7 separate regions of the Homo sapiens genome follow, and regions 1, 2, 3, 4, 5 and 7 are each linked to region 6. The links are contacts of gene promoters, found by promoter capture Hi-C in blood cells and fetal thymus (Javierre and others, 2016). All regions are on one chromosome and are shown on one strand. Each heading gives the region's core, a stretch centred on a gene start or on the middle of the fragment in contact. The rest is flanking DNA. Distances are from core to core; before and after follow the strand shown. Region 1 overlaps MALRD1 (MAM and LDL receptor class A domain containing 1). Region 2 overlaps PLXDC2 (plexin domain containing 2). Region 3 overlaps MALRD1 (MAM and LDL receptor class A domain containing 1). Region 4 overlaps PLXDC2 (plexin domain containing 2). Region 5 overlaps PLXDC2 (plexin domain containing 2). Region 6 holds the start of PLXDC2 (plexin domain containing 2). Region 7 overlaps PLXDC2 (plexin domain containing 2).

Region 1 (4,067 bases), core at 76-2,575, 400 kb before region 6:
TCACTGTAACCTCCACCTCCCGGGTTCAAGTGATTCTCCTGTATCAGCCCCCTGAGTAGCCATGACTACAGGTGCATGCCACCATGCCCAGCAAATTTAATTTTTTTGTTGTTGTTATTAGAGATGGGGTTGCACTGTCTCTACTAAAAAGAGTAGTTGGCCAGGCTGGTCTCAAACTCCTGGCCTCAGGTAGTCTGCTGGCCTCTGCCTCCCAAAGTGCTGGGATTACAGATGTGAGCCACCATGCCCGGCTGATTTTCCTTCTTTCAAATGGAAAAATCCTTTTACTCGTCAAATCCCATTCAGTATTACCGCTTCTCTGAAACATTCCAGCCCAAAACAGTGATCACTGCAATATATTCATACTTTAATTGTAGTAGTTGTAGTATTGTATTTTACAGCTATCTTTTCCAATAGACTCTGAACTCCTGAATAGTCGTCAACTTTTCTTATTCGTAAAGCTTAGAACCAGGCATGATAAATGTTTATTGAATGGATCAATAAACTAAATACTATCCTACTATTAGGAAAGGAAAAAAATAAAAAGAAGACATAAAGTGTCACTCACTGTCCTCTATTAAATAGAAAGATCAAAGTGTTATATGTAAAGTTTTGGTGCCGCAAAATAAATGGCACTGGAATATAAAATTTTCTTTTTAATTCTCAGCAAGGCAAGATACTTCTATAGAAGGTTGCACCCTTACAGAGGGAGCAGTGGAGCGCACACTTGGACAAGGGAGGGGAAGGGGTTCTTATGCCTGACACTCGTGGCCCCTGCTGCTCTGTCGTTCCCCTGTCGGCTAGGGTTAGACTGAGCAGGCTAAACTAATTATGATTGGCTCATTTAAAGAGAATGACGGGGTGAGTGGTTTGGCAGGAAAAATGTTTATGACAGAGCAGGTAATCGGAATGAGTCAGGGTGGAGTAGGTAATCGGAATGAGTCAGGGTGGAGCCGGTAATCGAAAAACGTTGCTGTATGAAGAAGTTAAGTTTAAAAGTAGAAGGCAAAGAATTGAACATACTGACATATTGATTCTTTGAAAAGAAATTTAGAACTTATATCTAACAAAAGTTATCTTCATAAGGAAAAACAATCATGTATTTGTTTCCATGGAATCACTATTCCCTACATCTAATATGAAAAACAGAGGAATAAGTTTTATCTTAAAGTCATGTCTATATTTAACTAATGCTCATCAGTGATTCATGCTCTGGGTAACAAGCCATTTAATCAAGTTGCAACTAGATAAGGAACATGTTATTTTTAAATCCTTATTATTGTGTCTTTTAGAGTCTTTTGTGCACATACCCTCTGCCTGGATCAGAGCTTTGTCTCCCATGCTGCAAAGCAATATTGTAAAATTTAAAAAATGCATTTGACTTACAGAAACTTCCAGGGATAGATACACAATAAATGCAGTGCACAGGGGTAGCAACGTCATCAGAGGCTCACAGCCTCCCTCAAATGGGCAACTCCAAAGTGGGGAAGGCTGTGAAACCATCCTCACCACTGGAATCAGAAGGGTGCATTTCATTTTTTATGGAAACAGGGCTACTTGTCTCTTTTGAGTTGCCATTCATTTTGACTTTGTTCACATAGACTTCCCTGAGTACCCTCTCTTACACTTGCAAAATGACTCTACCCTTGGTTGATCATGGGATTTGAATGATAAAGATGAATATTCCCAAGGATATGTGGGGCACAGAGTGTGGGGTAATGGGAGAGATCTTGCTCTGTAATCAGCCACCTTAAAGGGTTAGTGCCCCCTTCAAATCAGCCAAAACAACAATACCTGATGTCTTTTCCTGTCTCTGAAGATGCTTTTGATGCATCTGTTTGTGTGTGTATGTGTATGTGTGCATGTTTGTGCACACTTTCATCCTAGAATTTGTTAAATGCTATGTTTTAGAAACTCTGCCAGTGACACCAGGATTTGAACCCTGGCTTTCCAATGCGCTCTGATTCTAAGCACTGACATTCCAATGCTAGCTTTGGAGATGAATGGAGAAAGTCACTAACTTAAGTAGGGAATAACAAGTAACTGTGGGAAAAGATGGGCAATCTTAAAAGGGATTATTTATAATTTCTGGTTAGAGGCTGCAGTGAAGTAAGTATGAGGCATTACAGATACCAAGTCCTGTAATTACTGTGCCCCTAGATAATTATGCCCCAGTTAGAGAATGTTTAAAAGCTTTACACACTAAAGAGTATGAGAAACACATTTCATTATTGCAAATTTTGCTAAATGCATCAATAATTAATGGCTGCACTAGTCAACGTATCCCATATCTTCTAGTCATGTTAATAAGGTTAAAAACATCATTTGTGTTTTTCCCACTATCATAGTATTGGATTGTCAGCAGCTCATAAAGGTGATTTTTACAATTAATCGTCTTTCTCTCCACTTTTCAGAGGCAGATTGCTATTGCCTTTTTTCCCCTGGCCAGTAAAGGGTTAAACCCTCTACTTGAAAGACATGTTGAGAGTTTGGCTTAGATGCAGAGATTTTGAAGATCAGAGCCAAAGTGAGTGTGTTTGTGCCAAGAAGGATGGAAGGAGCATATGACTGGACCCATCTGTAGCAAATTGCCTTTGATGATGCAACAAAAAATAATTAAAACACAACAAAGAATAATGAATGATCCCAGTAATGAGCAGAATCCTCTGGAAGACTGATAAAGATGCTAGTGCAGAAAAACAGCATTTTTTCCAGGAAGACATTTTCAAAAGGAAACCACATTGATTTAACCTTTAGAAAGTCTTACTGCTTTTATTAGTTTCCATTTAAATCATGCTCTTTTCTAACCTCATGTTGGCATTACTAGTAGTTAGTAAAATTTTCTGTGAAGCCCTGAGATGGAATGCCACTTTGCAGTACCTTTGCAATTTTATGATCAATAAAATACCTTTGTGTCAGAACACAGTAATCAATGTATGAGAAATACATTTCAAACAAAACAATAACAAAGCTATTGGTGAGAAAATATCTTTTAGATGTTAAAAATGTCACATATAGAGAGTAAACACAGAAAAACATAGAGTAACCAGAAGACTTACAACATTTGCATCAGTCATGGTATAAAACCTGAAGGCTAGTTAGACAAAATGTAAGAGAGGATATAAGGATAGTAAAGATAATTATTACTCTGTATTGTTTGTGCATAGAGTAGTAATCGCTTTCTGGCCCCAGAGATACAGATTTAGAGTGAAATTGAACAAATGAGAATTGCATTTTTATACTTCATGATTAGATGTAGAATACCCTCGACCTATGGTTTGCTGGAACTATGTAAAGTAATTACTATATTATATCATTTTCTAAGCCAGATTTCACCTTCTGTCTAGAATTTTTTCCTGAAGTTTATTTTGTCTGAGTTTTCATTTCCCCCTCAATGGGGAAAGTTTTTGAAGCCTCACTAATTAGGCTGGAAATTTCAATGACAAAAAGTGCTAAATAATGATAGCATTTTCATTTTTGGCTCTTCTGTTTCAAGTATGCCTCCAAGAGAAGCAGTTTGGGCCTGCACTCTGTTTCTATCTCACTTCAGGGCAATCCCATCAGTAAGTAGGCTCTGGTATCTCTTGTACTGCTCATATCTACTGTTCTCCTACGAAGCGAGATTCTTAAGCCCTTGCAGTGCTCACCATAGATTTATGGCTTCCTGTCCTATGCTGTCAGGTTGGAGGATGCCTTTAGAATTGAAAGTCTGATATTAACCAAAAAATGTGCTAATTCCAATTTAGCAAGTTTTGGGAAGCCTAGCAATGGCTGTTTGAGGATCATCTAAATCTTATGTAGAAGATTTTGTCAGATTGCAATTTATATTGTTCCAACAAACAGATCTAGGATATTGTACACACCTACCACTCCATGGCAAAATGCAATCCTGTTTGCTCAGTTTGACTCTAAATTTGCTCTCTGTGGACCTGAAGTTATTACCAATCTATGAACAAATATTATAATGATGATTTCTACTATTTTTAAGGTAGACTATTTCCCCAATAATTAAGAAGCTTATTATTAAATAAATATTAAATAATATATTAAATGATAGGTAGATTAAT
Region 2 (4,099 bases), core at 1,545-4,044, 410 kb after region 6:
TCTTTCTACATGTAGAAACTACATCTTACTCTGCCGGGGAAAGGAATCCAAAAGCATTATATCCATTATACCTCCTAACTCATGTTAATATAGTAAGTGAAAATGAGTCCATTTAAGCCAAGCTTGTCCAACCCTCAGCAGCTATTGTTGGTGTTAGTGTATTTTATGTGTGGTCCAACACAATTCTTCTTTTTCCAGTGTGGCCCAGGGAGGCCAAAATATTGGACACCCCTGATTTAAGCTGTTGACAAATGTATTTGTTTTGGTAAAGGTAGTTAGTTACATTTTCTGTATTTTGTTGAACCATATGAAATTGCTGATTTTTACAAAACACTTTTGACCCAGAAAGGTTGCAATTTCGTTGTTCAGCCTAATAGTTTTACAAATTGTTGTCCAGCATAGGAAAATAAAAGAAAAAGAAAAATCACATCAGGATATACTTTTTCCCCTGTAGGTTAATTTGTAGATAGAATGTGTAGTTAGAGTTTATGCTGCCGATAGGACACAGAACGAGATGATATAGCAGAGTGCCTCTTAGGAAATGCACACAGATGGCTTCCACAAAGTAGCTCTAAATGCACTTTCCATTTGCCATCAGCAAAATAATTGACCACCTCCCTTTGGTGGATACCTACTTTCCTTTCAGTGTCCGCCTCCTGTCTCATTTTCTACCTGCCCTGTTCCTATCAGAAACCCGGACCAGGGAACCTTCTACTGGAGGAAAGAAACTTCCATATACCATTAGATTTTGGAATCTGAGATATATGAGGGGCCCCAGGAACAGGTTTTGTGTTACCCAATATTTCCAATGCCCCTTCTCGGTGTGTTCTACATGTGTAAAGTGATTATTCTTTTTTAAACGTGAAATGTCTAGTTATTGTAGTAGATGGCCCTATACCACTAAAATATGTATGTCACTAAAACATCAATTAACTTTGATGCTGAATTGATTTGACTTGGTTTGATTTGCTCGGGAAACATTTCTTCAACTATTGTGTACCAGGCCCATTGTTAGGTGATGCAGATGCAAAGATCTACATGGTCTGATGCCTGTCCTAAAGAAGCAAGTGGCCTAAGGGGATGACATAGAGAAGTAAATTGATATTTACGTATAGTGTGAAGAGTGCAAAGATAGAGTCAAGAAAAACTATATAAGAACAGAGAAGGGGTATCTAAACAAAAATGAAATTACAAGAATAGGTGATACTTGATCCAAGTTTTGAAGTATGGGCAGGATTTCTGAGGAAAGGGAGAGAAGAAAAGAATTTCAGGAAGGGGATTGACATAGAAAGAGGTTCAGAAGCATGAAACATCAAGATCTGGTTGGATAACTCTAAAGAGCTGCCAGATTTGATTTTCCTGGGGTAAAGTTATATACATAGTGCTTTAAGGCTGGTGAGGCTGAGAAGGTGGGCTTGTTTCTCAACCTCACCAGCCATAAAGTATCAGAATAAGTGGAGTGTCAGCATTCATAGTCTTTTACGCCAGGCAATGGGGTTTGAACTTTAACCTAGAGATCTTGGGAACCGTTTGTGTCATTTTGACAAGGGAGTGTCAGGACACATTTTACATGTTTAGTAGTTGACCCTTGAAGTATTGCAGGGAACAGGAGGGACAGGAGTAAGACTGAGAGGCCAGAAAATCTAGTTAGGAGGTTATACTAGTAATCCATAGAAGCAATGGTCAGAGGCTAAAAAAAAGTAGTAGTTGACCATGGGAATAAAAAAAGAGAATGCACAAGAGAAGTATTTACTAATGAAGTAGAAGCTACATGAGCTAATATTTGATTGGATGTGTGATTTACGTCATAGGAAAGTGACGAAGGTGGTTCCCAGGACATGGGCGTAAGTTATCTGGGTGGACAGTGGTGCCATTGAATAGGAAATACAGGAAGAGAAAGGGGGTAAGCAGTGAATTTAATTTGAGCATGTTGATGTTGATATCTAAATGAAAATGTCAGTAGGCATTTTTCTATATAAGCCTGAAATTAACTTGAGAAATATAACCATAAGATACAAATTTAGGCATCAGCAGCGTATAAATGACAGTTGAAGTTAAGGAGATGAATTAGGTATGGGAAGATAGTATAAAGATGAAAAGAGTGACTAGGCACGGTGGCTCACGCCTGTAATCCCAGCACTTTGGGAGGCTGAGCTGGGTGGATCACCTGAGCCCAGGAGCTTGAGACTAGCCTGGGCAACACAGGGAAACCCTGTCTCTACAAAAAAATACATAAATTAGCAAGACATGGTGGCACACACCTGTAGTCCTAACTACTGGGGAGGCTGAGGTGGGAGGATTGCTTGAGACTGGGAGGTCAAGGCTGCAGTGAGCCATGATTGCACCACTGCACTCCAGCCTAGGTGACAGTGAGTCTTCAAAAAAAAATTAAAAAATAAGAAAAAAGGCAGGAAGGCAGGAAGGAAGGAAGGAAGGAGGAAAGAAGGAAGGAAGGGCGGAAGGGAGGGAGGAAACAAGGAAGGAAAGAAGGAAGCAGGAAGGAAGGAAGGAAGGGAGGGAGGGCCAAAGACTAGAGAGGGAATACAGGATTTAAAGTCCTGTGAATAAAATCAAGAGTGTCATAGAGACAGCAAGAAAACAGAAAAGTTTGGTATCACAGAAACCAAAAGAGAATAAAATTTCAAGGAGGAAGTAGTGAACAGTGTCAATGCTGCAGACAAGTCAAGTTAAAAAAAACACACACAGAAAAGTGACCATGAGAGTTGGTGGCATAAAGACATTTGTTGATCTTGACTGGATTGCATAACAGTCCACCATTGTACAATCTCCAGGCAGAATTTGAGGATTCTGTGGACAGTGAGGAAATTGGAGTCCACAAGGACAGACTGCTTTTTCAAGAAAAATGGAAGAAGGGAAGTAGAGATTCTTAATGCTGTTGTTTACCTGTCACAGGTGCTGAGGAGAAAGACCCCATAAGAAGAAAAAGAGTCAAAAGATGACTGGGAGTGAAGTGATATATCCACAAGCATGGGTGGAGCCAATCAGCATGAATGAGGGAAGGGAGACAGGAGGGAGAAATTGAGGGGGTTTCATCTAAGATTGCTCTTTTCTCCATATAGTAAGACACAAGTAATATGGTGAGAGTGAGTGGGAAGAGGGCAGAGGTCATGGTGTTTAGGAGTTGAAAGACCCATAAAACATGAAACAGGAATGGGAAGGAAGCCAACTGCTGATGTGTAAAAGGCCCATCAGGTTGTGTTTGCAGCCTCCTAAACTTGGTAGCATTCCTTGAGGTTGTATGATTTCAACACTGAATTTTGTTCACGTGTGCTTGAATTAGCCATGCGTATTACTCACGTAATATGCTGATCCACTTTAAGCAAAAAAAAAAAAAAAAAAAAGGAATTGATGTTGATGGTTGATGGAGAGAAAAGATATGCTAGTCTCAAAATGGCATAATGCTTTAAAGAGAGTAGTTTAATCCATTAGATGGTAAATTTAGTTAATCTTCTTCGAAACAGCTAGGTTTTCAATGGTTTGCTCCTCCCGTTAAGACTAATTTTTGCTTTAGTTTTATTCTTCAGAGCTCGAATTATTATTTGTGCAAGATTTTTAATGTAACTTGAGTACTAAGGACAGCAGTTAATTATCTGAAACTAATTTGTAACAGTTTTGTAAGCTACTGTGACCGAATGTTATTTCAGTTACAGTAATAAATTAACAACTTGTTGGATAAAGTGTCAGCCATAAGTGATTTTTAACACAGTTAACATACTCACCAGCCACTAAAGAAAAAAAATGCAAAAACATACAGCTCAAAATTCATTGGAGGAATTTAAATGGAATTCTAAGAAATATTTGTTTAACCTGAAAAAGACAAGAAAGAAGGAACAAAGGACCATATAACAGATGAACACAAAGAAAATGAATAGCTAAATGGCAGACCAAATACAAACATACTAGTAACTATTTCAAATGTAAATAAAATAAACACTTTCATTAAAAGCATAGGCTATCACACTGACTTTTAAGAAAGCCAGATCCAACTCTATGCTGTGTATAAGAAATGTATGTGAAAAATAAAGACAAAGATATAAAATACTTCAAGGTAAAATTATAGAAAAATATGTACACTGCA
Region 3 (4,403 bases), core at 586-3,085, 410 kb before region 6:
TTAATTCTCGTGGCTCAAGTTCACACAAGATCACAGAGAATAAAGCATAAAAAGCATTAACACAACAGTCAGTGGCAGCCAACAGGCACACACTGGCCACCTCTAGTGATACGACTTTAAGATTGATCAAACAATCAAAAGAGAGTTATTTAATCAAAACAATCTATTTGCCAACATTTTGTAGCATTTGTCTTGTGTACTTTTTATGTAATTTTGAAGAACTCTAATACCACTCATGTTGATACTTAAGAAAACATGATACTTACATAAACCCAACAAGAATAATTAAATATTGAAGAATGAGACTTACATGTAACACTGAGCTTTGGAAAGCCAAAAACTACGTGATATCTAAAATTCTGCTCCCTCAAAACCAATTTTTGTCCCCTTGGGGGCAATATTGGCCCCTCTTAACAATGCATGTTATACCCTCTACTTTTTCTCCAAGTCCCACCTGTCAGTCTCTGAGAATGCTCTTTCTTCTGGGAAGGCCATCGTTCTTTATCTTTTGAGAGAGCAAGTTGTCAAACTTAACACAATCACCAAACTTGAGTCCCAGAGATTGAGACCATCATGGGCAACGTAGCAAGACCCCATGATATGGTTTGGCTGTTTCCCCACCCAAATCTCACCTTGAATTGTAATAATCCCCATGTGTCAATAACGGGGCCAGGTGGAGATCATTGAATCACGGGGGTGATTTCCCCTGTACTGTTCTCTTGGTAGTGAGTAACTCTCAGGAGATCCAGTGGTTTTATAAATCGGAGCACAAGCTCTCCTGCCTGCCACCATGTAAAACATGACTTTGCTCCTCACTTACCTTCAGCCATGACTGTGAGGCCTCCCCAGCCATGTGGAACTGTGAGTCAATTAAACTTCTTTCCTTTATAAATTACCCACTCTTGGGTATGTCTTTATTAGCAGCATGAGAACAGACTAATATACCCTATCTCCAAAAAAATGAATAAAATAAAATAGTTATTCCCTTAAAATCTTTCTTAATAAGCCAGGGTAACCACATATTATTAATACACATGTGTCTTCCATGCTCTTATTTGTGCCTTTTTCTTATCCATGCCTTTGTTAAATCCATATCTTTTTCTACATTTGGAATGCTTGTCTCCCTCCATCCTTCCCCCACCAAACACACACATGTAGATTTTGACATAACCAAATCCTGAACATCTTCCTAGATCCAGATTGAATATTTTCCCTTCTGCGTCTTGTCACTTACTACCACTACCTTGAAAGTCAGATGTAGGCACAATTTAGTTTTGTGTCCTCCGTAATAAATGGCTCATTGTAGACTCATATAATGTTAGAAAAAAATAAGACATTTATAGTGCTTAAAGAAGCTTAACTATAAACAAGGAGAAAAATATGTGAACCTATAATAATAATTTACAAAGTGGAAGATTTAGGGGAAATTGGAAGCTGATGATGGAATTATCTATGCAGTCTAAAAAGAATTTATGTTTTCCAAAAAAAAAGTCTAGTTTTGTAGTCCTGATTTAAAACCCTTACATCATATTGTGAATATTATGCCTCCATGAATAAAAAATAGAAGCCATAAAAGTGGACTTGGATGAATTACTATTATTTTTATAAATTAGACCATCTGGTTATGAATTTACTTTATGAATTAGACCATATGTATTAGGGTTTTGCCATTAAAAATTCCATGAATGACTCATTGAGGACTTTGTTATAGGTTACAAATGCTGATACATTTTATTTTCCATTCACAATGTGGCATTTAATATATCCACATATAATCATTGAGCATTGCTTTGCCCTCTTTTATGCTAACGTGTTGGTGACAAGAAAGCAGACTTAGTTTTTCAGACTTATGAGCTGAGGGATCATTATTCTGAGTGCTAGCAATTGAAGTGACTTAGAGACTTAAGGTTAAAAAGAAGGGTAAAATAATATTTTTATGTGAATTCATGGCTTTCTTTTCATCAGCATTCATGAGCCCTAAGGATTTTACAGGTCATATTTTTAATGAGTTATCTTGACTCTTTTTGACTTCACTGGGGGTCATTCAGCAAATAAAATCGTACCAAAGTTAGAGCTGCATATGGCTCCTGAATGATGAAAGAATGGTGAGAATATTCTTTAGTCTTTTTAGCGTTTGTTTCTAAGTTATTTTTCAGAAAATCCCCAAATTATAAGGCAGAACATTGAAATTAATTACTTTGGTGGCTTCATTAGAATCGGAGCTGAATTTTCTTGGTAGTCAAAAGAATATAAAACATAAGAAAACATGTATTGTGAAAAGCAGAAAATAATACTTCAAATGGCATTAAACACGTTAAGCTTTTTACTAAGCAATTTTGTTTCTTGTGAGGTTTTTAAAAAATGTCTAAGCAGAAGATAAACTAAAAATATAGTAAAGCTTAGAGAAAAAAATACTTTTTATTTTGTTTTTCCATTTGAACACAAAATACAATGGGAGCATATAAGTAAAACTTTTACAATTTACTATGTTTCCTTAGATGTAGGGAGATTGTGAACAGTTTTATTTTTATAGATAGATGGTTTGCAGTGATTTCAGAATGCACTTATGCTTTTTTTATTATTACTTTATCCATGTAGTAATAAACATCATTAGGAAAAAATCTCGTACAATAATTTTAAGCAGATATCTCCGTACTTAAAATTTTTTTATGCCTTGTAGAATGATTAAGGGCAGAGTGTTGACCTGGAACTACAGATAATTTATCTTTGACTAAGATGTAGTATATTCTATTTCATATTAGAAGTTTCTGATGTATGTTGCTCCCTTGAAAATCTTCCACTTATTTTCCTGTAAACTTCCAAGCCACAAATATATGTGTTTTTTTCTAAGTAGCTTCAGCACTGTTAAATATTTTAGAAAATTTTATTAATGTAAATATAGCCAGATCATTGAGTAGGAAAACAATCAATGGTGGCAAATAAGTGACATATCCATAATAGAGTCACTTTGTTTTCCTAGACCTCTGGGGAAGTGATTGTTTTATATCACTTCACTCATTTTGCACACACATACTGCACATTACTTAAAATTCTGTTTCTGAAATAATTTGTTTAAAAAATAGCACTCCAGAAAATTTCTGTTAAATTTAATAACTTCAATGTGAACACCTGGATCAGAATCATTATACATAACAGAGTACTGGATATATCCATTTGCATCTTCTCATATATGGTGAGCTCTGAAAATATACGAAATTCTATGCACAGAGAAGAGAAAGCAAATGTACTAGTTGCTTTTCCTTGTAACTTCTTATAAATGCATCCATGAAAATGCATGTCCTTTGTATATTCATGAAGAGAAGTAGCACTTTATTTAGTAGGTTTTTCATGACAACAAAAAAACCTGTGAAAGGCAGAATTTGTGAAAATAATCAAACTTAGAAATGAGGCATTGAAATGAAGTGGTGTTTTGCATATATACACGTTACCTCAACTTTCTAAATATTTCTTAATTTGGTAAGAATGCGTCAACATCTTATTTGTTATTTTGCATGAAGGAAGTTAGAACTACTGGTAGAATGTAGAAGGAGAAATATGAACAAAATTATTACCTTTTCTGGAAATTTATGTTCAACAAGAAGGGTCACCTCCTCTCCCTCTTTGAAGTCCCACCATTCTCTTGTATTTTTGAGATTATTTTTATATCTACCACAGAGTTGTTTACTGTGCACTGCTTCTCAGCATTGTGTACTTTTCCCTGCAACTTCCAACAATAGTTTTGGCCATCGATTATTCTGTTCTAGTTGCTGCCTGAGAGTCTGAGACCCCTGACTTGATCATCTGCTATAATCAACATACTGTTTTCAACAAAGATTCAATGGGAGGAAAACCACATCTCTCTTTGGTCCCATCCATCAGTTCAAAACAAAAACACCAACACAAGGCTTATTTACATGTTATAGATTTCACAGAAGTGTTGATCCTAATTAGAATCTTAGAACCCAGAATATGGCTGTACTCAGAGTACAAAAGGAAAATCAGATATCAAACTTTCACACATAGATTCTCTCCATACACATATCCTAGTTCCTAGACTCATTCCTTTGAATCTTTTAAAGGAGCCACATGTTCTATTCTTCCAATGCATACATAGACTCCATTTTCAGATAACACCACTCACTAAACATAGGGATTACTTTTGCGTTAGGATGCATTTTTTTTTTTCCTTTTTGCTGGAGCGATGAAGACCGTTTGACCTATAGAGTTTATTTCCTGAAGTATGAGGTGTTTAGCCACAGAATGTCACAGTGGGCTCCTAGATGTGACAAAAGATCACTGGTCATGTAGCTGGAGACAGACTTGGATTTGAATGTCAACTCTGCCGCTTACTACTCATTATCTTGGGCAAATTATTTAGAATCCATAAGCCACTTTCTTTACAT
Region 4 (4,028 bases), core at 659-3,158, 430 kb after region 6:
CATCTTCATTTGATATCAGTAATTGAGATATTATCACGCATTGCCTTGAATTGGAAATCTGTTATTAAGTTCTGTTAATGTGCTTCGTTTTCTTGGAAGAAAGTAGACAACCTTCTCAAAGTTACAAATGCATTCTTCAAAGAGCTGCTGAGTGACAAGCTAGAAAGCCTCAGGGACTAGCCAGACCTCAGGCTGCTGCTACTGCCGTAACCCCTCACACGTTTAAGCCTTTTCAAACTGTGCAGTTTATTTTCTGACATGGTGAAAAAGAAGACACTGAAATATCTGATGGTGATGGTATTAGCAGCAAATTGCATAGTATGAAAGATCTAGTTAAAGCTGGTTCAAAGGAACCCCTGTATGACTGCAAAATAGTGGAATATTGTTTTGAGTATTAGTCTCATTGTCTTATGTCTCAGAGCCTGTATGTCCATAGGTGTGGAGTGTTTACATGTGTATACGTACACATGTATTTATAGAATATTAGAGCTAGATGGAATCTTAGAGATAATTTAGTTCTATACTCTCCTAACACAAAAGGAGAGACTGAGTGAGGCTCAGAAGAGTGGAATGACTTATCCAAGGTCAAAGAGTCATAGTTCTAAGAATAACTCTTTCTTCTTTTCACATGTAAGTGAAGCAGATTCATTCAGCAGGTCTCCCAGCTTTTCTCCGCTTGGCTTTTTTTCCTTCCTGTGGAGTCAGTTGCCAGAGTCTGCTTAAATCACTACCTATCTGACATGCTGCTGGGGTCATGCGGCTCACAGTGGCTGGTAAGCAGCTGATTTTTGGAGGTGATAATCATAAATTTACTATTATTAAAACTGACCACTGTTTACAAAATCAAAACAGATCCACAATGACCATGGTTTGTGATATGCAGACGCGTGGATTTAAGATTTTTGAATTATTAGCTACATTAGAATTGTTGTTGCATAAATGAGGGAACTGAATATAACAACATTCTTTTCTTGCCTTTTATGTTCCATATTATATTCCTATCTACTTTTGAAGTGAAATTGATGTGCTTTCTTCTTTTATGAAAGTGATACCATTCTTTGTAGGAAATTGAGACAATGCAGAAATGTAAAAGGAAGAAGAAACGCCATTTATAGTTCCAGCATGCAGAAATGATGACTATTAATAGTTTAATTTATTTTCTTCTGGAATTTTTATGTACATAATTTGATGTTTGCCCATTTAACACAGTGGTGATTTCACTGTAATACAAATAGGTATTCTTTTTTAAAGAACATTTTTCTGTTTTATTATGATGGCTTTGTAAACATCATTTTAATGTTTGTATTCTATTCTATTCAACATTCATTCAATAGCTTTATATTGACTGCCTCTTATGCAGTCAAGTGGTAACTCGGAATGCACTGAGAGCCTAACATGTGCCTAGAAGTCAAAAAGGACCTCTTTTCATTCAGATGAAGACTGTGTGTTAGTTTTCTACTGCTGTTGTAACAAATTGCCACAAACCTAGTTACTTAAAATAACACACACTTGTCTTACAGCTCTGGAAGTCAGAAGTGCTAAAATCAGGATATGGACAGGGCTGGTTCCTTCGGGAGGCTTCAGGGGATAATCGTTTCCTTGCCATTTTCAGCTTCCACATGCCGCATGTGTTCCTTGGCTCATGGTTTCTTCTCATATCATTCCAACTTCTGTTCCCACCGTCACATCTCCTACCACTAACGTTGACCCTCCAGCCTCCTTTTTGTAAGGCCCCCTTGTGACTACATTGGGCTCACCTGGGTAATCTAGGATACTCTCTGCATCTCAAGGTCCTTAACTGAACCACATCTGCAAAGTTCCTTTTTACCGTGTAAGGTAACATTGACACCTTTTGGAGATTAGGACATGGACATCTTTGGGAGGCCATTATTCTGTTGAGCACAGAGTGCATCAAATGTGAGATGCATCACACGCTTCCAATTAAACTCTAACACACCCTTGACTGCAAGATATGTCCCAGTTTCAATTATATTAAAATGTAACCCAATGGATATCTTGAGTATTTCACAGTGAAATCCAGGCTTCACTAAACACTTGTATGAGTTAGTTCCTGTGCTAAACAGCGTATATAATATGGTGAAATTGAATGATGCTAGGCCGGGAGCGGTGGCTCACGCCTCTAATCCCAGCACTTTGGGAGGCCAAGGCGGGCAGATCACTTGAGGTCCGGAGTTCGAGACCAGTTTGACCAACATGGTGAAACCCCATCTCTACTAAAAATACAAAAATTAGCCAGGCATGGTGGTACGTGCCTGTAATCCCAGGTACTCGGGAGGCTGAGGCAGGAAAATCATTTGAACCTGGGAGGTGGAGGTTGTAGTGAGCCAAGATCACACCACTGCACTGGTCGCAGCCTGGGCAATCGAGTGAGATCCTGTTTCAAAAAAAAAAAAAAAAAAAAATTCATGACTCTATCCTTGAGTGTATATATCAGAGCTCATGCACCCAGTCTCCTATTGCAGAGCAATGGTGCTCTTCCTACTTTTTCTTATTTTTAATCTTCCCCATTATAAACATATTAATAGTAACAGCCAACATTTATCAAATTCACTAATAAAGTGATTGACACTTATTACCTCATTTAATCCTCATGAAGACTGTGTGTGTTACAAAGATTATCTTCATCTCATAGACGAGGAGGCTGAAGCACGGGCCTTAAGTAAGTTCTCAACATCACGCATTTGGTCAGTAGTGGAGTCAGGATTTAAGCCCAGGCTCTCCAACTCCAGAGACTATGCCCATAACCACCAGGCTGTGCTGCCTCTGTATGTATAAAGAGTTTTTCTTCATATGCTGTATGTAGAAATGCAGGCTGATATACATGCAAGGACATACATTATGTCCTTGGAACAGATTTCCAGAAGTAGAATCAAAGGAAAGAAATGAATGGTATAAAAGAACTTAGTAAATATTGCCAAAAGCATGACACCAATTCATGTAGCTGTTGCTATTGTTGTCTATTTTTAGTGATGATAATGTCAGTGGCTGTTATCTGTGTATTTTTTTCTTGCAGAAAATATACACCAGTTATTATACATTTTGTGGACACCAACACTCTTCCTTATATAAAATACTTACATGGGCTTTAGCTTTTAGATTTCTTACTGTAAAAAGGAAATGAGATAATTAAGCAAATCATCACTCCATAAACAAGTGAATTAACTGTATACATCCCATGTCTTCTTATACAAGATTAGGTACAAGAGTTCCATTCTCCTAAAACATTCCATTTCTATTCAGTCAAGCAGAATAGCCTATTTTTTTTATTAACTTATCTTCTATATTGCTCCATCATTCTCAGATCTTAGACTGGGCAGTTTCTTCAACTGACTGGCTTGCATTTCAAGTTATGTGTCTAGCTTTTCACAGTAATTTTCTAAAGGTTGTCTGATTTTGGTGAAAATCTATCACATTATGTACAAGAATGTCTACATATGCTTTAAGTTTTTTTAAAAAAATGAAATTTATTATCTTGAAACAAAATAGCAGAGAATACATATTTAAGTAAGCATGAATTCCTTAATTTTTAAAAGATCTTGATGAAACTAGTATCTTTTTGGAAGGGTCAATATATCTAGGTTCTACATTAAATTTAATGATTGTTCAACATTGCTAGGCATAAATTTTGTGACTTGTAATATATTTTATTGTTTCATGAACATAGGTCACGGAGATAAATGTTTACACTCTTGAGTGGTATTCTACACATATCACTATTCAAGATTTTTAAATAAAATACATAAAATGTAATCTAACTGAAGGTCAAGAAAATAATATTACAAAGTGATAATCATACAAAATCAACATTCCTATGAAAGGATTCTATTTGGACTATAACGAAATAGTTTAGACTAGCCATCTTGCTGAAAGTATTAATGTTGAACATTGTCCTTAATTTTTCTTAGTATACATAAATAATTGCTAGTATTTGGACACTCATGTACAGTTTTGATTGCTCTGTTCACATAAAAATGAAGAGAAATTGATAAGAACCTCATGATAAAAAT
Region 5 (4,094 bases), core at 625-3,124, 470 kb after region 6:
TCAAAATTCTCCCTGACCTAAGAATACTTTCTAGTTCACTGCAGTCTTACTGACCAGATGCAACAGTTGAAGTTTGATTTCTCGACCCAATATTTCTATTGGGTTTTGAATTATTAATATCACTGTTTTGAGGTATTCAGAAACACCAGTGTATCAAAAAAGCATTTGCACTTTAGGTGTGTGTGGTGGTTATGTCATTTATTAGACCATCCCAGACATAAGACAATCAGGGAAATCAGAAAACTCCAGCCTCAAATGTGTCTATAATTTCCTGTTCTACCATTGTCATATCATAACATGGTATTACTTCTTAAGGTTTTGATTAAGTTGATCTAGCCTCAACTTAAATTGTAATACATCTGCCTAATTATTGTCTGGAATAACTTTTCAACCATCCAATGCCCACTGCTCTCACAATGATTATTGTAGAGAAGTAAAATGGTAATTATTCAAGTAAAGTCACATAATTTCTGGAGTCAGTTTTTCATAACAAGTTTATGGAATACATCATCATTGGCTTCTTCATAATATATTTATTATGAGTGACCAAATTTTGCCTGGAGGAGCAAAATGCTCAAAACTTGTTATTATAGGTTAATTTCCAGCTCACTGTTGACACTGAAAGATTCTGTGTTACTTTAAACCCAGGATAAAAGGCTGGAAAAAAAATTAAATGTAAGTCATAAACTAGTACTCAGCTTTTCCTAGTTTCTAAGGCTTATTAACATTTGCAAATTACTCAATAAATGTCTTTCATAATGGAATAACATAAAAGCTTTTGATTTGGCAGATAGTGATATTTTATTTATTTTCATTCTGGTTGAAAAAAATCTCAGTGGCTTCTCTTCATTCCACGAGAATTTTGATTTTTAACAGCAGTCTCTCTTTTTCTCAGCATTGCAAATATATATGTATATATACATTCATGACCAAAGTATCGCTTACTGACCATGCAGCTGTAAACCTTCTGTGCCTATCAAACAAATACATAGCATGAAACTAATTTTAGAAGTTTCATGGGGGAATTTTAGGGGAAAGTATAAACCTAAGAGTGAGTGAATGGAGATGATTCATGGAAAAAAAAATAAAAATCTAAATGTGCTATTAGGCAGAGTTATTAACTTCTTTTAGTTGTTGTTTGAGATGGGGTTTTGCTCTTGTTACCCAGGCTGGAGTGCAATGGCGTGATCTCGTCTCACTGCAACCTCCGCCTCCCAGGTTCAAGCGATTCTCCTGCCTCAGCCGCCCAAGTAGCTGGGATTACAGGCATATGCCACTACAGCCGGCTAATTTTGTATTTTTAGTAGAGACGGGGTTTCTCCATGCTGGTCAGGCTGGTCCCCAGCTCCCGACCTCAGGTGATCCGCCCACCTCCGCCTCCCAAAGTGCTGGAATTACAGGCCTGAGCCACCGTGCCTGGCCGAGTTATTAACTTCTTAAGAGCAATGTGCTAATAAATACTCATTGATGACCAGCTCAAATTTAGGTCATTCAGACATCCAGACACTGGGGCACATATTCTGCAAGCAATGCTGAGACCCCTGACATAGAGAAAGCAAAGGATATGCCTATGATTAGTCTAAAATGCAGCCATCACCCCCCATACCTCTTCTATGGCATTCATCCTAACATCATGGAGGCCTTTGTCCTAGAGAATTATGTGACTTGCCCTAGAGAATTAGTGAATGACCAAAAAGAGACTTTCCATTTATCTTCCTTTGACTTAAAAGGCATGAAAATAAGGCAAAAAAATCAATAAAATAATTTTCCTGAGGAAAGGTTAAGAGATGGCACTTTCCTTTCCGGGCCCAGAGCTGGATTTCTCTGAGATTTGACCATCTCAGGACTCAGACAGACTCCAGTGCTATTTTCTGGACATTTGTGGTGAAGCCTCAGCCACCATGTTCAAGGTGGTTTGAATGAAAACATACTCAGATTGTCACATTTATAGCAGGGAAATAAAAACTCAAATTAGGCATCCTGCAGCAGGCTACTCTGAAAATAACATTAGGCAACATCAGAGCTTCACTTGCAAAGAAATGTTAAAATCATTTTAGGGAAATCAGTGAAGTCTCTTTAGAAACAGACATCTTGTGTATGGCGTAACCCAGTCTTGGGGCCCTCACGGAGAAGAGGGGGAAGTCTTTTCATTGATTGGTCAAAACAAATCTCTCATTTGCCTGATTTGAAGCATTTCAACAGTGCCTGGAGAGTACATTATTTTCAGGGGAAAAAAAGGAGAGAGTCTTTTTTATATGCCAGCTGGGATCATGGGAACTTCGAATGCCAGGAATTTACTACTGTTTCTGGTAATTCTGTGTGTAGTCATTTGAAATGTTGAAGTGTGAAAAGAGAAGAAATTGGGCACTTCTTGCGGCGGGGGAGGGGGGGGGGGCGGTGGCTTTCCAGATTTTATGCCAGTTGCACCAGCATGCAGAATATTTGTAATGCATTTCAAAGTGGATATAATGGCACCCTTTGTCAGAATCACAAAGCTCACTGCGGCACTGCTACAAGAGGACACTGAGGAAAATCTGGCCCTATGAACCTAGTCAACCCCAAGCAAAAAGAATGACTATGTGTGTGAGTGCAGCACATGGCCAGTTCGTTTCTCACTGTTTTGGAAAGCCCTGTGTGCCAAACCAAGGACGTGTCTTTCAGGGAAAGGTTAATTTTCCGAAGTTTATTAAAATAGAACTTGGAAAACCAAGCATTTTGAATTTATTCCAGTCCTCTGGGCATCATTCCTATTTCTTCTGCCATGTCAAGGAGAAATTCCAAGCCTGCATTCTGTCATGCTAAAATAACCAGCCCATACTTCTCGGTGACCTTCTGTTGAACGTACCTGAGCCTGCAAATGTAAAAATGATTGTATCTGAATCTGCACTAATGGTGTCTGAGAGCAAAAAGAGTGTGACCTCTATTGGAAACCTTTGTTCAAATTCAATAATTCAGAGATGCTACATACTTCTGCAAGCTTCCTGATTATGTTCACTGTAATATTAATGACCTAAGTTTGAATGTATTTCCTTACAGTCCATTAATTTGACATCCATCTTTTACCTGGGGATTATTACAATTGCAATAAGTCATTAATGTTTTCTTCACACAGCTTCTTAAACCAAGTTTCTCTGCAGCTCTTTCGGTTCTGCTTACAGTGTGTGGGAAATCTGATTTTTTTCCCCTAGTAATAGTTTGATAAGAAATTTAGTGTATTGACTGCCTCAGTGACACAATTTATCTTTAAAGGTGTGGAAGCTGGTGGGGACCAAATGTTACCTGTGTTTTTGCTGTTGATTGCTATTTTCAGAAGCAAACCATGTTTTTCACTTACAGTAGGAGTCAACAAATTTGGGATTTTAGAAGGGGGAGGAGGGAGCTATTTGTGTAAGACTGCTGTCATATTTGACTACATATTAAAAACAGTAAATGAGCATTTTGTTTTAATTTCTTAAATACCTTGTCTTTCAACATACGTTTTGTTTCCTTTCTTCCATTAGTGTTCAAAAGGTTCTACCCATTGTGGAAGAAATTCTGTGTGCAGAATTCAGAGGCACAAGGCTGATGGCAAGATAGAAAGTTATTTTGCTTCTAAACCCACCCCGATGTGGAAACTGATACTAGCTAGAGGGAGCTGTAGAAAACAAAGATTTCAGGATTGCACAGTGTGTGGGCAATGGGATGGAGACTTTTTCCCCTATTCCCAGCCACAGTGCCCAAGCGTTCAAGTCTCCTGGATCAGACAGATGGGATTTTAGCTGCTGCTTTAAATCCTAGTGCTGGAATAAGTCAAGGTACTTCAGTTCAGCTCTTGCCTCTGTCACTAATCTTGCTTTATGAACTCCTTTGATTTTCTGAATAAGTTCCAGAAGGTTCTCTATTATTCTGTCCTTCTTCCAAACTGGAAATGGCTGTATCTAATTCTCAGGATATTTTGGATGTGTGCCTCAGGTAATTTATGTGGAATGTGTAAAGCAAGATGTCTCCAATTCTGAATATTCCTTCCCCTTTTCCCAATCCTCCACTCTTGGACTACCTTTATAACAACACCGAGTACGCACAGACCTGAACCCATGCCCAAGAAGCACACACAA
Region 6 (4,348 bases), core at 1,123-3,622:
TGATGGGAGCTGGAGTTGTGCAGAATATTTTGGGACGCTTTCCGCATGGATTTATGATCCTCAAAAAGAATCGGCATCAATTAAACTATAGTTGACCCTTGAACAGTATGGGGGTCAGGGGGACGGACCCCCACACAGTAGAAAATTAATGTATAATTTCGACTCCTCATAAACTTAACTGCTAATACCCTACTGTTGATTAGAAGCATTACTGATAATATAAAAACAGTTGATTAACACATATTTGGTATGTTCTACATATTACATACTGTATTCTTAAAATAAAGTAAGCTAGAGAAAAGAAAATGTTAAGAAAATCATAAGGAAGATAAATATACTTACTGTTTATTAAGTGGAAGTGGATCATCAGAAAGGCTTTCATCCTCATCGTCTTCACATTGAGTGGGCTGAAGCGGAGGAAGAGGAGGGGTTAGTCTTGCTCTGTTAGGGGTGGCAGAGGAGGAAGAAAATCCATGCAAAAGCGGATCCTCGCAGTTCAAACCCCTGTTGTTCAAGGGTCAACCGCACAATCAGGTTTTGATGAGAAGACTCAGTTTTCAAACTTGATTTTAAGCAGGTATATATCCGGGTACTCAAATTCGGATGTAATATTACATAGAACTTAAACACTCCTAGTTAAGCAGAAATAGAAAAACCCAGTTACCTAAGTAGAAATCAACCTATGGGAGGAAAGCTCAGGAAAGAGCCAGGGTCCTGGCATAATAAAGAGTATAGGCATGATATATGTTTGTGTTTATACGTGTATATCTGTTGTTTGGAAATAAAGAGCAAATTGAGTATTGGATTAAGGGAAACCTTTCTTGTTTCCCATGAGAGAGCCGTCCTTTGAGCATCACATTTGCAAAGGTAGATTGATTATCCGGATCCACTTCCAGTGGGTTTTGTGGCAAGCCGAGACATCTATTGACAGCATCCATAGACTCTTCAGAGCTTGGAGTGGAAAGGACCTTGAACTTAGAACACATGCACATTTATTATGTGATTGAAGTCGTCTTCTCTCACTTTTGCTTCAGTAAACACTTAAACAAAGCCATGTACTTTGCGGTAGGCAATGTTCTATATTTATTAAATATACAGTTAACTCATCCAATCCATTGCAACCACCTTATAAGGGCGTTACTCTAATTCTCTCCATTTGATGGATGGATAACTGAGGCTAGGAGATAAACTGCTCATTGCGGGGGAGGTGAAATTCCAGCCCAGGCTGTCCGGGCTCTAGATCCTGTACTTTTAACCAATAGCGCTTTGCTTCTTTTCCTTGTATTTATCCCTTTCAAAAATGATTAACTGTATGCAAAATAAGATATCAACTAACGAGAGGGCCGGCAAGGGTTAACGCGGAAACAGATCCCCGAGCTGAAAAAACAAAAACAAACTGGGGAGCCAGAGCCCCTGAAAGCTCCGGTAGGAAATTCAATGGGCCTCCTGTTCCTTTAAACTCTCGCTTTCGCCCCCGCTGACACTTTGCAAAGCCGCGGCGGCAGCGGCGGGGACCACGCTGCGGTGCACCACCTTCCGCCACCCTCCCGCGCTGGGCTGGGGTCGAGGGGGCTTCGCAGAGTCGGTAACCGAACCGGCTCTGGTTTGCTTTCTCCACTCCCTAGCCACTACCAGAACCAGCCTCCGCGAAGGGGCGAGCTGTGGTTAACCCTTTCGTGCCCAGGGAGACCCCGCCAGGGTCGGGGCGGGGCGCGATCGCCCCCCGCAGTCGGGCGCGAAGGCGGCCCGGGAGCCAGGTGGGTGTGGGGCGCAGTTGGCGGAGCTGCCCAGGGCGTGCGAGCAGGCTGCGAGGATGGCGCCCCGGCGGCGCGGAGGTACCGCCCCGCGCTCCCCCGATAGCTCCCCGGCCTGTCCCCTCTCCCCGCGCTCTGGGGCAGCCGGCTGCCTGGGGCGCACGGGGCTGGAGTGGCCCTCTCCCTCCCCTTCGCTAGGCTCCCCCGGCTTAATCTGTTGGCCGCGACTCCTCAGCCAGCCCCGAGGAAAGTGCAGCCATTGGACAGGTCTGTGCGGGCTGCCGGTTTCAGGGAGGAAGGTGGGAGAAGCCTGGAGGAGCGAAGGGGAGGGCGGAGGGAGGAGGGAGGAGGGTGCGGCGGCAGATCTGGCAAATTGCGAGCTGCCTTCCCTCCTCAAAGTGTGGAGAAGGAGCGCGGGGGAGCGTGGCGACGGCAGCGCCTCCTCCGCCACCAAACTCCTGGGGCTCCGCGGGGGCTTGGGGCCACCTCCTCCTGAGCCCGGAGGAACCCTCTCCCGATAGGTTCCAGCGTGACTCCCTCCCACTCCACCCTTTTCCTTTCTTCTTCCTCTTTTTTTTTTTTTTTTTTAAACACATTTTTTTCCTGGCTTCGGACCTCAGACTGCTGCAGCCCTAACCTTCCCAGGGCTCAGCTCTTTGGAGCTGCCCATTCCTCCGGCTGCGAGAAAGGACGCGCGCCCTGCGTCGGGCGAAGAAAAGAAGCAAAACTTGTCGGGAGGGTTTCGTCATCAACCTCCTTCCCGCAAACCTAAACCTCCTGCCGGGGCCATCCCTAGACAGAGGAAAGTTCCTGCAGAGCCGACCAGCCCTAGTGGATCTGGGGCAGGCAGCGGCGCTGGCTGTGGAATTAGATCTGTTTTGAACCCAGTGGAGCGCATCGCTGGGGCTCGGAAGTCACCGTCCGCGGGCACCGGGTTGGCGCTGCCCGAGTGGAACCGACAGTTTGCGAGCCTCGGCTGCAAGTGGCCTCTCCTCCCCGCGGTTGTTGTTCAGTGTCGGGTGAGGGCTGCGAGTGTGGCAAGTTGCAAAGAGAGCCTCAGAGGTCCGAAGAGCGCTGCGCTCCTACTCGCGTTCGCTTCTTCCTCTTCTCGGTTCCCTACTGTGAAATCGCAGCGACATTTACAAAGGCCTCCGGGTCCTACCGAGACCGATCCGCAGCGTTTGGCCCGGTCGTGCCTATTGCATCGGGAGCCCCCGAGCACCGGCGAAGGACTGGCGGGTGGGGTAGGGAGGTGGCGGCGGCGGCATGGCGAGGTTCCCGAAGGCCGACCTGGCCGCTGCAGGAGTTATGTTACTTTGCCACTTCTTCACGGACCAGTTTCAGTTCGCCGATGGGAAACCCGGAGACCAAATCCTTGGTAAGTAAGATGCACTTTAGCTTGCTGATTTTGTGCGCAGCTGAAGACCTCTCTGGCACTCTCGTGCTCCCTACCCTCTCCCCCCAACATCACCTATCTGCCCTTGGGAAACTTATTGCAGTTGCTTTTCGGCTAAACTTAGGCTTCCCAAATGGGGAAAGAGGGTTATCAAGAGAAGGACGCCGGGGACTAGGGGTTTTCTTGAGGCTTTCGGGCTTACTTCACCTGGGCGGCAGGGGGTGGTACTGTCTCCCCAAAGTAGCCCAGGGAGGGCTTCAGTGTGAGAGCAAAGCTTCTTCCGTGGATACATCTCCTAGGACCTGGCATCTCCAGGCTGTGTGCTCTCCGGCTCCTCCTCCTTCCTCGCTGCTGGTTAAACTAAGCGTGTGTGGTATGGGGTGGGTGGGGGACGTTGTGAAAGCCAGGGATTGCAGGTCTCCCCTCTGCACGAGAAAATTCCCTGTGGCAGCACCTTCCTTCCCCTGGCGATCCCCACTAGCTCCGTCTAGTGACCTGGGCCAAGCGGGCGCTGGAAGGGGGGCGGGGTAAATGCGGCCGGCGCAGAGGTGGGGAGCAGGTGGGAAAGGTGGAGGCGGGCTCGCCTCTGGAGACCTACCCCTGCTCCCATTGTCCTCCGCCTGCCAGCTTCACAGACAGGCCTGAACGCGCAGAGAGTTCCTTGGAGTGCCCTGATTTTGTCCCCGAGAGGGCCCCCAACCTCCGCATCCTCTTAGTGGCTGTCCTGGCAGGTGCGCGTCCTGCGGGGAGTTGCGCCCCGGGGGCTATCGCCGAGCGGGAGCTGCCTCCTGGAACCCTGCCCACCGCGAACTGGGTGCCTACTCCCCATTTCTGCCTTTCAGTGAAGAAAGTGAAGACACAGGCAGAAAGAGATCTTGGCAGAAATTGGTGAACTAGGGTGGACTTCGAGAGGAGGTGAAACGAGAGAAAAAGAAAAAAGAAAAAACTTGGAGGGAAAAGAAAAGAAAACGAAAACTTTCTCCCTAGGATAATCAATTTGTCAATTTGTTCTTTTCTGGTGTGTGTGTGTGTGTGTGTGTGTGTGTGTGTGTGTGTGTGTGTGTAATTTAAATGATTGCCCGGAAAGTATGCATGCGTCCTCAACAGTCAACTAGAGAGTCACAGATGGAAGGTTGGGGGACACCTGGGGATTCCAGGCAAGGTGAATCTTGAAGATCTTGAAGGAAACCCTTGAGTG
Region 7 (3,809 bases), core at 716-3,215, 450 kb after region 6:
ATATGTAAGTGTGGTTTTGCCCTAGTTTGACTGATAAGATCACTCTGTAGCTTCAAATGAATAGTGTCCACTCTTGGATTTGATGACATAAATCATTCTCTTGTGTTGTTTCTTAATCATGTGATTAAATATGGAGTAAAGCACACAATTACTTTAGGATAGAAAATAACTCACCATTAACCATTCCTAGGGTCACTGCTGATTAGACCTTAACTTGCCAGATTTCTTGAGCTTCACTTAGAAATACACTGGCACTCCAGACACAAGTAACTTGACAAGAACAATTTCTTAAGGAACACAGCCAGTCTGTTGTAGGGAGGCAGCACTAACTCACATTCAACTTTCATTAGAATATTTATGACCAGTGCAGCACTATCTTGTCTTTTAACTCAGTCACCAGGCAGCGGTGAACTGGCTTGTTTTCACACCTTCTGCAAAGTACTTTTCTTTAGAGTAGATTGCCTAATAGCAAATTATTACATGATTTGGGTAGAAAATAACCACTTGTGGCAATGTGGCTCAAAAAATAAAGATATGCTGCTTAAAGCATTATTAACATATTATGAACTAAGGCTAATGCTGAAGAAGATTAGAATATTCTTAGCTGGTATCACAGAAAATTAGTCAAAACCAAAGAATCTGTGCAGTATACTCTGCTAGAGTCTCTTACATTTACAGGGGGGTATAACTAAGGTAAACATACATTCCACTTTGCCAAGAACTATTCTGTATATGTCTGTTGTCTGATATAATTATTAATAGTTTCTCCATTTATTCTCAAAAGTGTCCTGATTTGGACAATAAATCATATGCTCATCCTATGTGTAATTATATTTTCCAGCTTAGTATGCATCTAAAGACAGAGGACACAAAAATTTTAAGGCCAAACAGCCACATAAGAATTCAGTAATAATGAAAGGAACATCAAAGATATGATCAATATTGAATAAAGGATTCCGTCAAATGCTATAAAATACTTAGAGAGAGAGAATCAGGAGGAATCTCATTAAAGACATGGTATTTGTGCAGGGTTTTGAAAGGGTGCTATGTTCTGGCTAAGCAGAGAGGAAGGGGAGATACCTTTTCAGATGGAATGGGGATATATTATGATTTTAAAAACATATCAAGAAAGGTCAAGATGAATCAACTTATTTAACTATGTGTTAATATCTATGGGCAAATATTGAAAATGGCTTTACTATAGATGGAAGATATGGTAGGCTTTGAAGGACAAACCACAGAAGCTAACTATCATTCTACAAGCAGCGAGAATCAGTGATGTAATAAAGAAGTAGGTGTTTGGGCCTGGCATGATGGCTCACACCTGTGATCCCAACACTTTGGGAGGCAGAGGCAGGTGGATCACTTGAGGTCAGGAGTTCGAGACCAGCCTGGCCAACATGGTGAAATCCCGTTTCTATTAAAAATACAATAATTAGCCAGGCATGGTTGTGCGTGCTTGTAGTCCCAGCTTCTTGGGAGGCTGAGGCAGGAGAATCTCTTGAACCCAGGAGGTGGAGGTTGCAGTGAGCTGAGATCACACCACTGCACTACATCCTAGGCAACAGAGACAGGCTCCATCAAAAAATAAAATAAAATAAAATAAAATAAAATAAAATAAAAAAGAAGTGGGAGTTTAAAATGGTTGTGGGGAAGGAGTAGAGAGTGAGCCAGAAGAAGAGTGAAATGATGGTCCCAAGGGAGTTAGAAGACTATTGGTAGTCTATACGTGAAGTGGTTGCTGAGAGCTGAATTGGGGTATTTATAGAGGGACAAGAATGAGGCTAATACAGGAGCCATGTGAAGGAAGAGGGTAGAATTTAGCAATCTTTGTTTGCGTAAAGGTTTATATGTGAAAGGGTTTTCAATCAGTTATATTCGATTCCCAGTACTCCCCAGTGAGCTCAGTAAATATAGAATTGTTAGATCCCTGTTTTACGGTTAGGATGACTGAGATTCCAAGAAAGTAAGCAATTTCTGAACGTTTCCTATATCAAATTAGTGGTAAAGGTGAGGAGGATGCCCTGATTCATTACATTGAATATGTAGGATGAAGAAGGATCAAAGATAACTTCAAAGTCCAGAATCTGAGCAACTGAGAAATTGAATTTTCTTTTCTTTTTTTTTTGAGACAGAGTTTTGCTCTTGTTGCTCAGGCTGGAGTGCAATGGCATGGTCTTGGCTCACTGCAATCTCCGCCTGCCAGGTTCAGGTGATTCTCCTGCCTCAAACTCCCAATTAGCTGGGATTACAGGCACCTGCCACCACACCCTGCTAATTTTTGTATTTTTAGTAGAGACGGGGTTTCACCATGTTGGCCTCAGGTAATCTGCCTGCCTCAGCCTCCCAAAGTGCTGGAATTACAGGTGTGAGCCATCGTGCCCTGCCGAAATTGAATTTTCTAATGACAGAATTAAAAACATCAGAAGGCTTAGTTTAGGAAGGAAAGTGACAGGATGGATTTTAGGCAGGTTTGGTTTGAGCTGATGGTCAAGAAATTGGGTATCTTAAAAAAAAAAAACTGGAAAAAAAAAAGGAATGGATATGGGTAAACAATCAGGTGAGAAAATATGGAACTAGTAGTAGAAGTTGAAACCCAAGAGAATAAAGAGTTGGGTCTTGTCAACACGAAACCTTAGGACGTGTTGACAGTTAATGTTGATGAATCAGAAAAGGGGACCGTTTAAGACAAAAAACAGACACACACACACACACACACACACACACACACAAACAGAGCAAGATGCAAGAAAATATACCATCCTAGAAAGCCACAAAACGGAAAGCGTCAAGATTGAAGAGACAGGCAGCAGTGTAAAGTGCTCTAGAGGAGTCACAGAAGATGTTGACAGCTAAGTCATTGATAACCTTAGAGAATGCAGTTTTAAAGCGGGGAGCAGGCACTGAGGGTGAAAAATGGTTTTGTACCATGAAGGCAATTGATGGGGCCAGACATTTCAGAGAGATATAGTATTGAGAGTTCAAAGAAACATCAAGTAAACGCTTTTTCCTGATGTTTGGTGAAAAGAATTCAACAAGAGAAGAGTAAATGAATCACTGACTTTCCAATGGAAATTAGAGTGTGATTCTTTGACACTGGGTGAACCTGAACATGTGACTTTTTTCTCCACTAGTTGGTTCTGTTTAGGATCTGGAATAGAAAAATATAGAAGATAAGGATCTGTGCTGAGGACTGGGGAAACTTACCCAGAATTGATGGTCAGATAAAGGAGAGAACAGACAGTAAGCTGACTGAAGAGGCCCTCTATGGAATGCAGGCTGGCAGGAAGTTAAGTGAAGCCTGGGTGAACTACAGAGGCTAATTAGATGTGATCTTCCACCATAGTGCAGTGCCATGTAATAGCCAGGCTCTGGAGGTAGCAGCTTCGAGGTGAGGTAGGAGAAATGTAGAAGGGATGGAAGTGGATATTACGCTGACTCTCAAATCTCATTGGTTAGCTCCCGTTCAAGTTTTTATGTACAAATATATTATTTTCCCTATAAATAAGATAAATGCCTTATCTTTAGTACTGTTTTACATAAAGTTGTGCAAATACTAATTTTATCGGATGACTGAATGCATTATCACACAGTCATGCTCGGTTTGAACAACAAAGTGGCCAATAGTGGGAAGGGTGCAGGGCTGCTGGTGTCAGAGCAAGAGGGCTACAGGGGAAGGGCCCTTTTTCAGGGGATGTAGCTTTTTAAAAAGATTTGGGAACACTTGGAGGATTTGCTAAAATGAGCCTCAGAAGGAAAATTGGTTTTCTAACCTGTGGCTTTTTGAAATGAATTATTCCTTTCAGTCT

The links. Contacts are between HindIII fragments. The CHiCAGO score rates a contact against its expected background, and 5 or more counts as called.
Region 1: a contact is called between a fragment that was not itself captured here and the fragment with the promoter of PLXDC2 in region 6, in 1 of 17 cell types (megakaryocytes). The highest score is 7.6, in megakaryocytes.
Region 2: a contact is called between a fragment that was not itself captured here and the fragment with the promoter of PLXDC2 in region 6, in 2 of 17 cell types (neutrophils and M2 macrophages). The highest score is 6.0, in neutrophils.
Region 3: a contact is called between a fragment that was not itself captured here and the fragment with the promoter of PLXDC2 in region 6, in 1 of 17 cell types (megakaryocytes). The highest score is 10.1, in megakaryocytes.
Region 4: a fragment that was not itself captured here is called in contact with the fragment with the promoter of PLXDC2 in region 6 in 3 of 17 cell types (M2 macrophages, neutrophils and monocytes); the score reaches 6.5 in M2 macrophages.
Region 5: a fragment that was not itself captured here is called in contact with the fragment with the promoter of PLXDC2 in region 6 in 1 of 17 cell types (monocytes); the score reaches 5.1 in monocytes.
Region 7: a contact is called between a fragment that was not itself captured here and the fragment with the promoter of PLXDC2 in region 6, in 3 of 17 cell types (neutrophils, M2 macrophages and monocytes). The highest score is 6.8, in neutrophils.

What each region holds. Positions count from the first base shown.
Region 1 is chr10:19,419,367-19,423,433 of GRCh38, forward strand. The region is part of intron 28 of MALRD1 (MAM and LDL receptor class A domain containing 1); the gene reads left to right. Among named protein-coding and RNA genes, the nearest start is that of MALRD1-AS1, 310 kb to the right of the region's middle. The HindIII fragment of the contact is 1,732 bases long and covers 460-2,191 here.
Region 2 is chr10:20,226,176-20,230,274 of GRCh38, forward strand. The region is part of intron 12 of PLXDC2 (plexin domain containing 2); the gene reads left to right. Among named protein-coding and RNA genes, the nearest start is that of MIR4675, 320 kb to the right of the region's middle. The HindIII fragment of the contact is 5,349 bases long and covers 121-4,099 here.
Region 3 is chr10:19,401,684-19,406,086 of GRCh38, forward strand. All of the region lies in intron 28 of MALRD1 (MAM and LDL receptor class A domain containing 1), which reads left to right. Among named protein-coding and RNA genes, the nearest start is that of MALRD1-AS1, 320 kb to the right of the region's middle. The HindIII fragment of the contact is 964 bases long and covers 1,354-2,317 here.
Region 4 is chr10:20,247,870-20,251,897 of GRCh38, forward strand. All of the region lies in intron 13 of PLXDC2 (plexin domain containing 2), which reads left to right. Among named protein-coding and RNA genes, the nearest start is that of MIR4675, 300 kb to the right of the region's middle. The HindIII fragment of the contact is 4,441 bases long and covers 1-4,028 here.
Region 5 is chr10:20,285,602-20,289,695 of GRCh38, forward strand. PLXDC2 (plexin domain containing 2) reads left to right here. Exons shown (of 14, transcript NM_032812.9): 14 at 1-4,094. Among named protein-coding and RNA genes, the nearest start is that of MIR4675, 260 kb to the right of the region's middle. The HindIII fragment of the contact is 2,202 bases long and covers 774-2,975 here.
Region 6 is chr10:19,814,060-19,818,407 of GRCh38, forward strand. It overlaps PLXDC2 (plexin domain containing 2), which reads left to right and starts at 2,373. Exons shown (of 14, transcript NM_032812.9): 1 at 2,373-3,132. The coding sequence starts at 3,021. It overlaps LOC124902388 (a long non-coding RNA gene), which reads right to left and starts at 2,169. Exons shown (of 2, transcript XR_007062078.1): 1 at 343-2,169. RefSeq lists an enhancer at 1,297-2,062. The HindIII fragment of the contact is 8,470 bases long and covers 1-3,422 here.
Region 7 is chr10:20,268,434-20,272,242 of GRCh38, forward strand. All of the region lies in intron 13 of PLXDC2 (plexin domain containing 2), which reads left to right. Among named protein-coding and RNA genes, the nearest start is that of MIR4675, 280 kb to the right of the region's middle. The HindIII fragment of the contact is 4,857 bases long and covers 1-3,809 here.